3 separate regions of the Homo sapiens genome follow, and all the other regions are linked to region 3. The links are contacts of gene promoters, found by promoter capture Hi-C in human tissues and cell types (Jung and others, 2019). All regions are on one chromosome and are shown on one strand. Each heading gives the region's core, a stretch centred on a gene start or on the middle of the fragment in contact. The rest is flanking DNA. Distances are from core to core; before and after follow the strand shown.

Region 1 (2,966 bases), core at 334-2,833, 510 kb before region 3:
GGTGAGGGATGAATGCAAACTTGGGCTTTGGGACGCTGGGCTTCTAGGTTTGTGTCAGTGCAGTGCCTGTGCTCCAAGTCCATGGAGGTTACTGAGGTGGACTGAAGGCAGGGTCTACTCCGGCTTAGGTGGAAGAAGGCTGCAGTTCAAGGAGGAAATGAGCCATTGGGAAGCACAGGTGCCTCTCTTGAGTCTGGGTTTTCTGACCTTCCTTGCTGAAGGTAGATTATTCGTTGTCTGTGTTATCTGTCATGGGTACAGCTCTGTAAATATTGCCCCAAAAGTATAACAATGCAAGTTTAGTCTGAAGTTTGAAACTTGATAACTAGTATTTGTAAACTAATGAATCAACTCTCCTATTTAAAGCAGTCATCACTCTGTTGGAGAATTTTTGTTTTTTCTCTTGGTACAATTAAACTCTGTGATGACAAAAGCATTTGGTACTAATAAAGCATTCATAAATGCTTAATAAGTACCTTGCCAAGCACTTTCCACACTATTTTGTTTAGTTCTTAATGGTCTTTTGAGGAAGAGGCAGAGATTGAGTATCTCACGCAGGATTATAGGGGAATGAAGACTCGGATCTCTATTTTGTGCCCAGACTCTGAGCTGCTTTATGAACACCTCAATTAAATTACTTCATTGGAGTGATTTGAGTAATCTATCTATAGTGTAATATTTTCTATGAATAATTTTCTGTAACCTTATTTCATAAGTTAATATCTAAAAAGTGTTTATTTCCAAATTGCCAAATAAAAGGTTTTATATTAGTCATTAGAATGTAGGCATCTGTGTCTCTGTATGCTAAGAATTATAACCCAAAATTATTTTTGTGCTTAAAAAATAAATGATGTCTCCACGATGGCACGCATATACTTATGTAACAAACCTGCACATTCTGCACATGTATCCCGGAACTTAAAAAAATTTTTTTTCCATAACTAAAAAAATAAAAATAATGATGTCTTTTTTGGAGAGAAAGTATGCTGAAGAAATTTTAATAACTTTTCATCACAAGAATATAGATACTTTATTTTAACTTTTAAATCTATTCATTTGCTTATTTATTTTGAGACTGGGTTATGAGACTGGCTAATTTTTGTATTTTTGGTAGAGACAGGGTTTCAACCATGTTGCCAAGGCTGGTCTCGAACTCCTGGGCTCAAGCCATCCACCCTTCTCAGCCTCCCAAAGTGCTGAGATTATAGGCGTGAGTCACGGCACCCAGCCAGATAACTATATTTTAAAGACACTTTGAATATATCATGAAAGTAATATCTTCATAAACCTAATTTTTTTAACCATACAGGAGACTTAAAAAGCCTAGATTTCTTTTGCTCATAACCTACAATCTTATGTTTAATTTTTATAGTAATGAGTTTGTTCTGTGTCATATACTGGTAAGTTTTAGGCAGCATGTGGAGTTGAGAGAATTCATTGAGTCTTTAAGTTACTTCTCCAGCCATTCCTAGAGTCTTCGTCTGCCCTTATGATTAGTTTTGGTAAACCAAGTAGCAGACGGTTTTTTAATAATGTCATGGCACATAAGTTTGCCTAAACATGACATTGGCATTCTTTCTGCTTAATTTTCAAGTGAGGGCCCTGGACCAAGTGGTGCGTCGGCCCCTGTCAGCTCTGAGGTGACACACAAGTGCGGGGCCTTGCTGTGCATTTGTTTTTTTACGTTGACTGTTCAGTGAGAGAGGAGGCTTACTCCTGGCTCTGCTTTTACCATCCTCTTTCTCATTATTTTCAGTGTATGCTTTCTGGAGGGAAAGTTAAGAGCTTTATATACCACACAAACTACCTAAAATCCTTAATAGGGTAAGCAGATTATACATAACTTTAAAATTGTCTGTTTCTATGTTGGAATTACTGAAGCAGATTATAATGTGAAAGGACAGAAAGCCTTTTAAAAACCTTTATGTTGGGCTGGGCGCGGTGGCTCATGCCTATTGTAATCTCAGGACTTTGGGAGGCCAAGGTGGATGGATCACAAGGTCAGGAGTTCGAGACCAGCCTGGCCAAAATTGTGAAACCCCATCTCTACTAAAAATACAAAAAAATTAGCCGGGTATGGTGGCGCACGCCTGTGATCCCAGCTACTCAGGAGGCTGAGGCAGAAGAATAGCTTGAACCCCGGAGGCAGAGGTTGCAATGAGTTGACATCGTGCCACTGCACTCCAGCCTGGACGACAGAGTCTGTACAAGACTCTGTCTCAAAAAAAAAAAAAAAAAAAAAAAAAAAACCTTGATGTTAACATAAGTAACAGTTGTTAACAACCCAGGGTTGAGTGGCAGCATTGTGAATTGTCTTCAGATACAGATCGTGAAAATAACTCTAAAGCTTTTTCCTCGAACTTGTCTTTCTGTGGCTTTGTAAAAAATTGGATAGCTGCTTTCCTTGGTCTTCCCTGCACCTGCACACCGTGTATACAAGTGTGAGCCTCTGGTCTTCTCATAGAAAAGTCTGATGACTGTTAGAGAAATGACATCAGCAGTAGGTCTTTTTCCTAAAGTCAGTCTTTATCCTGTAGTGTGTTTACTCTTTGTTTTATTTATTGGGGACCTGGTTTTAACAAAATGTTACTTCCAGTTTTTCTGTAATAACTATGGTAAAGTAGCTTTAACCACTAGATTAAAGTAGCCACTAGATTCTTAATTTAATCTAAATCTGATGGATGCTACTAAGGACAAAACTGGTCATTTTCAGAGCAGTCCTGTAGGGGAGAGCAGTGTGTCAAAGACAAGTAAGCACAGTGCAGGCCTATGCCTGGCACAGGGCTTGCCGCTGTTCTGCCGGCCTGTCATCATTGGGTGTCACTTAAGGCCTTACAATGTTTTGCTTTGTTTTTTTCTTTCTTTCTTTCTTTCTTTTTTTTTCCATAGAAGGCGTCTCACTGTGTTTCTCAGACTCATCCTAAACTTCTGGACTCAAGTGTTCCTCCCGCCTCAGCCTCCCAAAG
Region 2 (2,803 bases), core at 242-2,741, 460 kb before region 3:
CAACAGTGTGCCCAGCCCTAGAACTTGACAGTGGGGTCGGCTGTCTGCACCCAGTGACAGCCACCCTCATGGTGGCCCAACTGAGAAGCTCACTCTTCCCTCTCCCAACCTGCTGTGGCCCCGCTCCTGCCACCTCTTTCAAGGACCAGCCTCCTTACAAAGTCTTTCCCAGTCCTGCCCCTTGAAGAAACTCTCCTTCCTCCACACCTCTATTATGGGTTGTGCATCCCCCACAAAGATGAGCCATTCTGAAGTCCTAACTCTCAGGACCTCAAAATGTGACCTTATTTGGAAACAGGATCCTTGCAGATGTAATAGTTAAAGTTAGGTCACATTGGAGCAGGGTGGGCCGCTGACCCAATGTGACTGTGTTCTTATAAAAAGGAGACCGGTGAAGACCTAGGATTGGAGTGACACAGCCACAAGCCAAGGAACTCCAAAGATTGCTGCAGCCACCAGAAGCCAGGAAGAGGCAAGCAAGGACTTCCTAAGGTTTCAGAGGGAGCACGGCCCTGCACCACGCTGATGTCAGACTTCTGGCCTCTGGAACTATGAGATAGCCCATTTCTGTTGTTTGGAGCCACCCAGGTTGTCTTTGTTACAGCAGCCCTGAGGAACTAACCCAACCTCCATCCAGGAATGGATTGTATTTCCTGCTGCCAATGCTGGAGCAGGGTGGCTTCGTGGCCATGCAGCCCCTCAGAGGCACAGGGCCCTGCACTTGGGGTTTAGTGCTCTGTGATTGCTGTCTTGACATTCTTAATTATTTTATCAGGCTGGGCACGGTGGCTCATGCCTCTAATCCCAGCACTTTAGGAGGCCGAGGGGGGCGGATCACTTGAGGTCAGGAGTTTGAGACCAGCCTGGCCAGCATGGAGAAACCCCATCTCTACTAAAAATACAAAAAATTAGCCAGGTGTGGTGGTGGACACCTGTAGCCCCAGCTGTTTGGGAGGCTGAGGCAGGAGAATCACTTGAACCTGGAAGGTGGAAGTTGCAGTGAGCCAAGATTGCGCCACTGCACTCTAGCCTGGGTGACAGAGTGAGACTCTTGTCTCCAAAACAAAACAAAACAAAACAAAACAAAAAAAACTTTATTTTATCTTTGAATTTGTGTGGTGTAAGTGAGGCCTCATTGGACAGTGGAGCATACGTGAGCACTTGGAGCCTGCCTCATGTGTGCTCCCATCTGCTGCTGGTCCGCCACCTCTCCCAGGCACATTATTGACTGCTCGTCTCCCTCCCTTTGGTGTCCTGGGCCCCACATGGCCTCCCCATCCCCACCCTCACCCAGCAACCGCTGGTGCCCTCCATGGTCTGCGGGAACCTGAGTGTGTATGTGTGGAGGGGTGTGGGGTTGACATCAGATGCTTTTACTACACTACCCGTGGCATCTCAGGGTGGGCGTGGCCATGCAAGCAGCTGGTGGACTGTGTACCCACCAAGTCACTCGGCAGGGCCCCTGGGCAAGTGTGACAGTTGACACTCACCCTGTCCCAAGAAAGCATGATATTCAGTAGCAAATAAAAACACCATGATAGGTCAAAAGAGAGACCATGGAAGAAAGGGAAAAGCTTTCGTTTATTTTAGTTCCTTTGCTGGCCCATTCTTTTCCTGCTTTTTGAACAAGGGGCTCTGCATTTTTATTTTGCACTGGGCCTTTCAAATTTTGTGGCTGGCCCTGGTTGGGAGCTGCAAAGTGATGCTCCAACTTAGAAACGAGACACGGGATCCATCAGCTATGATACAAGATGAATTCCTGGTGGATTGGAACTCGGGCAAGCAGCCTCATGAAGAAACAAGGTATGCATGATGCTATTAGCAGGCAAGGGCCCTGGTCAGCTGAGACGGTCCTGCTTCCTCTGGATAGGGTATCCTGGCCACTGGAATATTTAAAACTAGGAAATTCAGAAAGTTATATTTGCACACTGGGATGTCTAATTTGTTTGTTATGCTGATCAGTGCAAAAAATCTTTTCCATAATTGTATTTGAATATTCATAAGTGTTGCTAGAAGAAAAAGTCAATTTCATGTCAAACCACCAAGGATCACATTTTCTTCACATGCTGCTCTTTTGCCAGGGAGAAGTGATTCAATGTATGTTGACAAAAAGCAGGACTGAGAAGAGCAGAACTGGTCCAAGAACTTATGAAATACCCACATTCAGGGAGACTTTCTCTAAGGAGAAACATCCCTCTTCAGAAGTCTGGGGAGCTTGCATACTGAGTAGAAAGGCAGAGCCGTACCTCCCTGGAGAGTCTCTGAAGACCTCATCTGCCCAGCCATCCAGCGTGAGCTCTGGAAACCTTCTGCCTTTTAGTCTATGTCAAGACTAGAAGCCAAGCAAGGTGTCACAGCCCTTCATAACTGTTAATGAGAAATAGAACTGAACACTATCCAAGGCAAAAAGACAGACTCTGTTGAGCACTACTGCAAAAGGAAAGCGCCGAGCACAATTCCCAACACAAGGACAAGTGGGGATTTACAGCCCAGGAACAGGGTGGAGGTGGGGGGTTGGCAGATGGAAAACAGAGGGGACCTTGACGGTAGGGGGGTATCTTGCTAAACTAACTTAACAGGACACCTGCTGCAGGCAGGCCAGGATGATTGGATACTAAAGGCAGAAGAGGACTTAACAGGATTCTTTGCTAAGACTGGCTCAGGCAGGCTGAGCACGGGGTCCAAGGATGAGGCCTAGCTGAAAAAAGTGCCGGAGGAGTCTGTCTGAAGTTGGTCAAGCAGTGAGTTATTATCGTGCTCTCGGGAGGAAATGCAGAAAGGACTACCCTTAAATCAGGGGCAG
Region 3 (2,823 bases), core at 159-2,658:
TGGAAGGCTACAGTGCCGGAAGACTCCACAGTAGCACAGGCGAAGTGGCTTAGGCGAAAACGCTGGGAAGTACCCCAGCTCCCGGGGGCCAGAGCCTCTAGGGCTGGCAGCCTCAGCAGGCAGAGTCACTTGCCTCCTTCAGCTCAATTGCTGAGGGCTTGCGTTTCTCTGCAGGGAACAGGAGTGCCGCCGACTTCCACTCTTGGTGCCCTTCACCGCTCAAACTGCACCCCAAATAAGCGTATGCACCCTGCTCCAAGAGAAGGATGCGCTGGGCTGATCCTCTGGAGGCAAGAGGGCAAAAGACAGAAAGTAACGAGCGGCCTTTGCACAAACTCAACTCTCTGCAGCGGCCCCTGCGGCCCAATCCTGCCGGCCCAGGAATGCACGGTCGGATAACAGGCCTCTCCTTGCTTTTTCGTCTTCTTCCTCCCGCTTCTCTCCTCTCTCCTTTTCCTCCTCCTCCTTTTTCTTTAATTTTCTCCTTTCTCCCCAAGCTTCTACAGTTGTTTCTGTGTTCGCTCAATCATGGCCTTTGGCATTGATTGAAAATTTGGCAGTTCCTTCTCTCGGAATTCTGTTTGAAGCCTTCATATGGATTTATTATTATTATTATTATTTTTGCCACACAAAAGGGGCAAATCCGCGTGAGGAAGGGGGTCGCATGGGGGTCGGCTGAGATCTGCTGGCTGCCGGTCTAGGAGGGGCGCTGCTCTGTGCCGGAGTGGGCTCTGGTGCACCAGCAGAGGCTGGGGGAGAGTGCTGCCCCCGCCTGGAGCCCAAGTCTCTGCGTGCCTGGGGGTAGAGCGCGGAGAGGGACCAGGCAGGCGCCGGAGGGGACCCGCGCGGAAAAGGAAGAAGCCCAAACAAAAACGCTGTCCGGCGCCAGGCGCCCACCTGCAAGCCCAAGCCGGTGCTCGGCCAGTTACAAAAGAAATGGTCAGGATCTGGACAACGATAATGATAGTATTAATCCTCCTATTAAGAATCGGCCCAAACAAACCCTCGCTGTCAGGGCGACAGGCGCCCGCCCAAGCCCAGACCTCGGACCTGGTTCCAAGCCTGTTCCCGCTGGGTCTCTGGGCGCCCGGTTTCTGCACCTGGAGCTCGCCCGATGAGGACAAGGTCTGGAGGCCGGCCTGGGAACAGGGGCCGAAGGGCGAGCCGGACCCTAGGGGATTGGTAGGGTCGGGGAGAAGGGGTCCAGGCTAGGGGCGGGCGGGGCGCACGGAGACCAGGCGGCTTGAGCGGGAGGTGGGGAGCTGGAGGAGTGCCGGGTTCGCGGGCGGGGGACGGGGAGAGGGGGGCGGGGAGAGGGGCGGGAGTCGGGGGCGGCGAGGGGAGGGGCGGAGCGCGGGTCCCGCCCCGGCGGGCCGCTGGAAAAGTTTAGTCTCTGACTCGCTCGGGCAGAGGCCGAGGAAGCCGGTTCCGGGGACGGGCAACAGGGACTCAGGGACCAGAAGGCGGCTGCAGGACGCGACCGAGCAGGACCCCAGGCCCGGGAACGACGTCGCGAGCGCTGAGACTGCCGGGCCTCCCAGCCCATCTGGCATTCGAGCGCAGGACCGGGCGCCCCGGCACCGCCGCGCGCCACCCGCTAGGATGCCGGTGGCCCCAGCGCCCTCAGCCGACGGAGGTGAGAGGCGGGCCCGGGCGGGGCGCGGAACCAGGGTGGGGGGCTGGGGGCCGAAGGACCCACCTTTCCAACAAAATCCCCACCGATCCCGGGCGCGACGGGGACTTGGGCGCGCCACGGCGGCCGGAGCGCTCCACATCAGCACCCCTCCCCCAGAGCCGCTGCAGGAACAGGGAGGAGGCCTTTTCCACCGCACCCGGAGCGTTTACAACGGGCTGGAGCTGAATACCTGGATGAAAGTGGAGAGGCTGTTCGTGGAGAAGTTCCATCAGTCGTTTTCCTTGGACAATTAACAAGTTAGGCTTCCACAGTGCCAGGGCCTGGGGATGCTGGACGTGGGAGAGGGTTGTGGTCGTTAGCCTGGGAAAATCATTCTTTTAAACAATATTCGCCGGAAAATTAGTTTTTTCCTAACATTTCTCAAACAAGGCAATTAGGGCCGTCAGAATCGGTGCTGGAAGACGAAGTCCCCACAGTGCAATAATGAGGTTCCCACGGAAAATCAGTACGTTGTGTTCGTAACTGAGATAACAGCTAGAGAAGGGGCTTTGGGCTTTTTGAGTCTCCCAATAGTCAGTCTCTCTCTCTCTCTCTCTCTCTCTCTTCCTCTGACTTTCTGGCTTTGGACACTCCCAATGGTATATTTCTTTGTGGTGTTTTTATATTTGGATATAAGAGAGGAACTTCTTGTTGGATTTTTAAGGGAACACACTTCGTTTTGACCCTTCCAATAAGGAAAGGGGAGCTACAGGAACAGAGAGCTCTTTAGAAGGTTACTTTTAAATGGAGGCCCCCCCATTCATGGTACCCACTCCCACTTGGACCTCTGAGACCTCCAGAATTAGGCATCATTCTAAAATCTGGACATTAGAAGTCACAGACTTTGTATATAACCACATATTCATAATTTATCTTTTCAATGTTTTTTATTCATAGATGAAAATCTTGCAGGCATAGTTAAGAAAAATATAATTCCTAGAAAGTACAAGGGAAGGATTATGCTCTGCAGATACATGACTAACAAGGATAGCTGGCCATGCCCAGGGCTGGTGTTGGTTGAGGAGGTGGTGATGGTGCGGGGCATGTGTGTGTGTGTGTGTGTGTGCGCTTGAGGAGTTGTGGAAGTGTTCATATCTGTAAAGTATTATTTCATGGATGCAGACCTTAATGCTAGGTTGAATAACTTT

The links. Contacts are between HindIII fragments. The study calls those that stand out against the background at their distance.
Region 1: a fragment that was not itself captured here is called in contact with the fragment with the promoter of S1PR3 in region 3 in 2 of the 25 tissues and cell types used here (dorsolateral prefrontal cortex and lymphoblastoid cells).
Region 2: a fragment that was not itself captured here is called in contact with the fragment with the promoter of S1PR3 in region 3 in 3 of the 25 tissues and cell types used here (dorsolateral prefrontal cortex, lymphoblastoid cells and spleen).

The regions. Positions count from the first base shown.
Region 1 is chr9:88,479,374-88,482,339 of GRCh38, forward strand. No RefSeq gene overlaps it. Among named protein-coding and RNA genes, the nearest start is that of NXNL2, 54 kb to the right of the region's middle. The HindIII fragment of the contact is 6,311 bases long and covers 1-2,966 here.
Region 2 is chr9:88,526,398-88,529,200 of GRCh38, forward strand. It overlaps LOC105376134 (a long non-coding RNA gene), which reads right to left. Exons shown (of 2, transcript XR_007061653.1): 2 at 1,563-2,367. Among named protein-coding and RNA genes, the nearest start is that of NXNL2, 7.4 kb to the right of the region's middle. The HindIII fragment of the contact is 4,513 bases long and covers 1-2,803 here.
Region 3 is chr9:88,990,060-88,992,882 of GRCh38, forward strand. It overlaps S1PR3 (sphingosine-1-phosphate receptor 3), which reads left to right and starts at 1,409. Exons shown (of 2, transcript NM_005226.4): 1 at 1,409-1,636. RefSeq lists a silencer at 955-1,249. The HindIII fragment of the contact is 13,055 bases long and covers 1-2,823 here.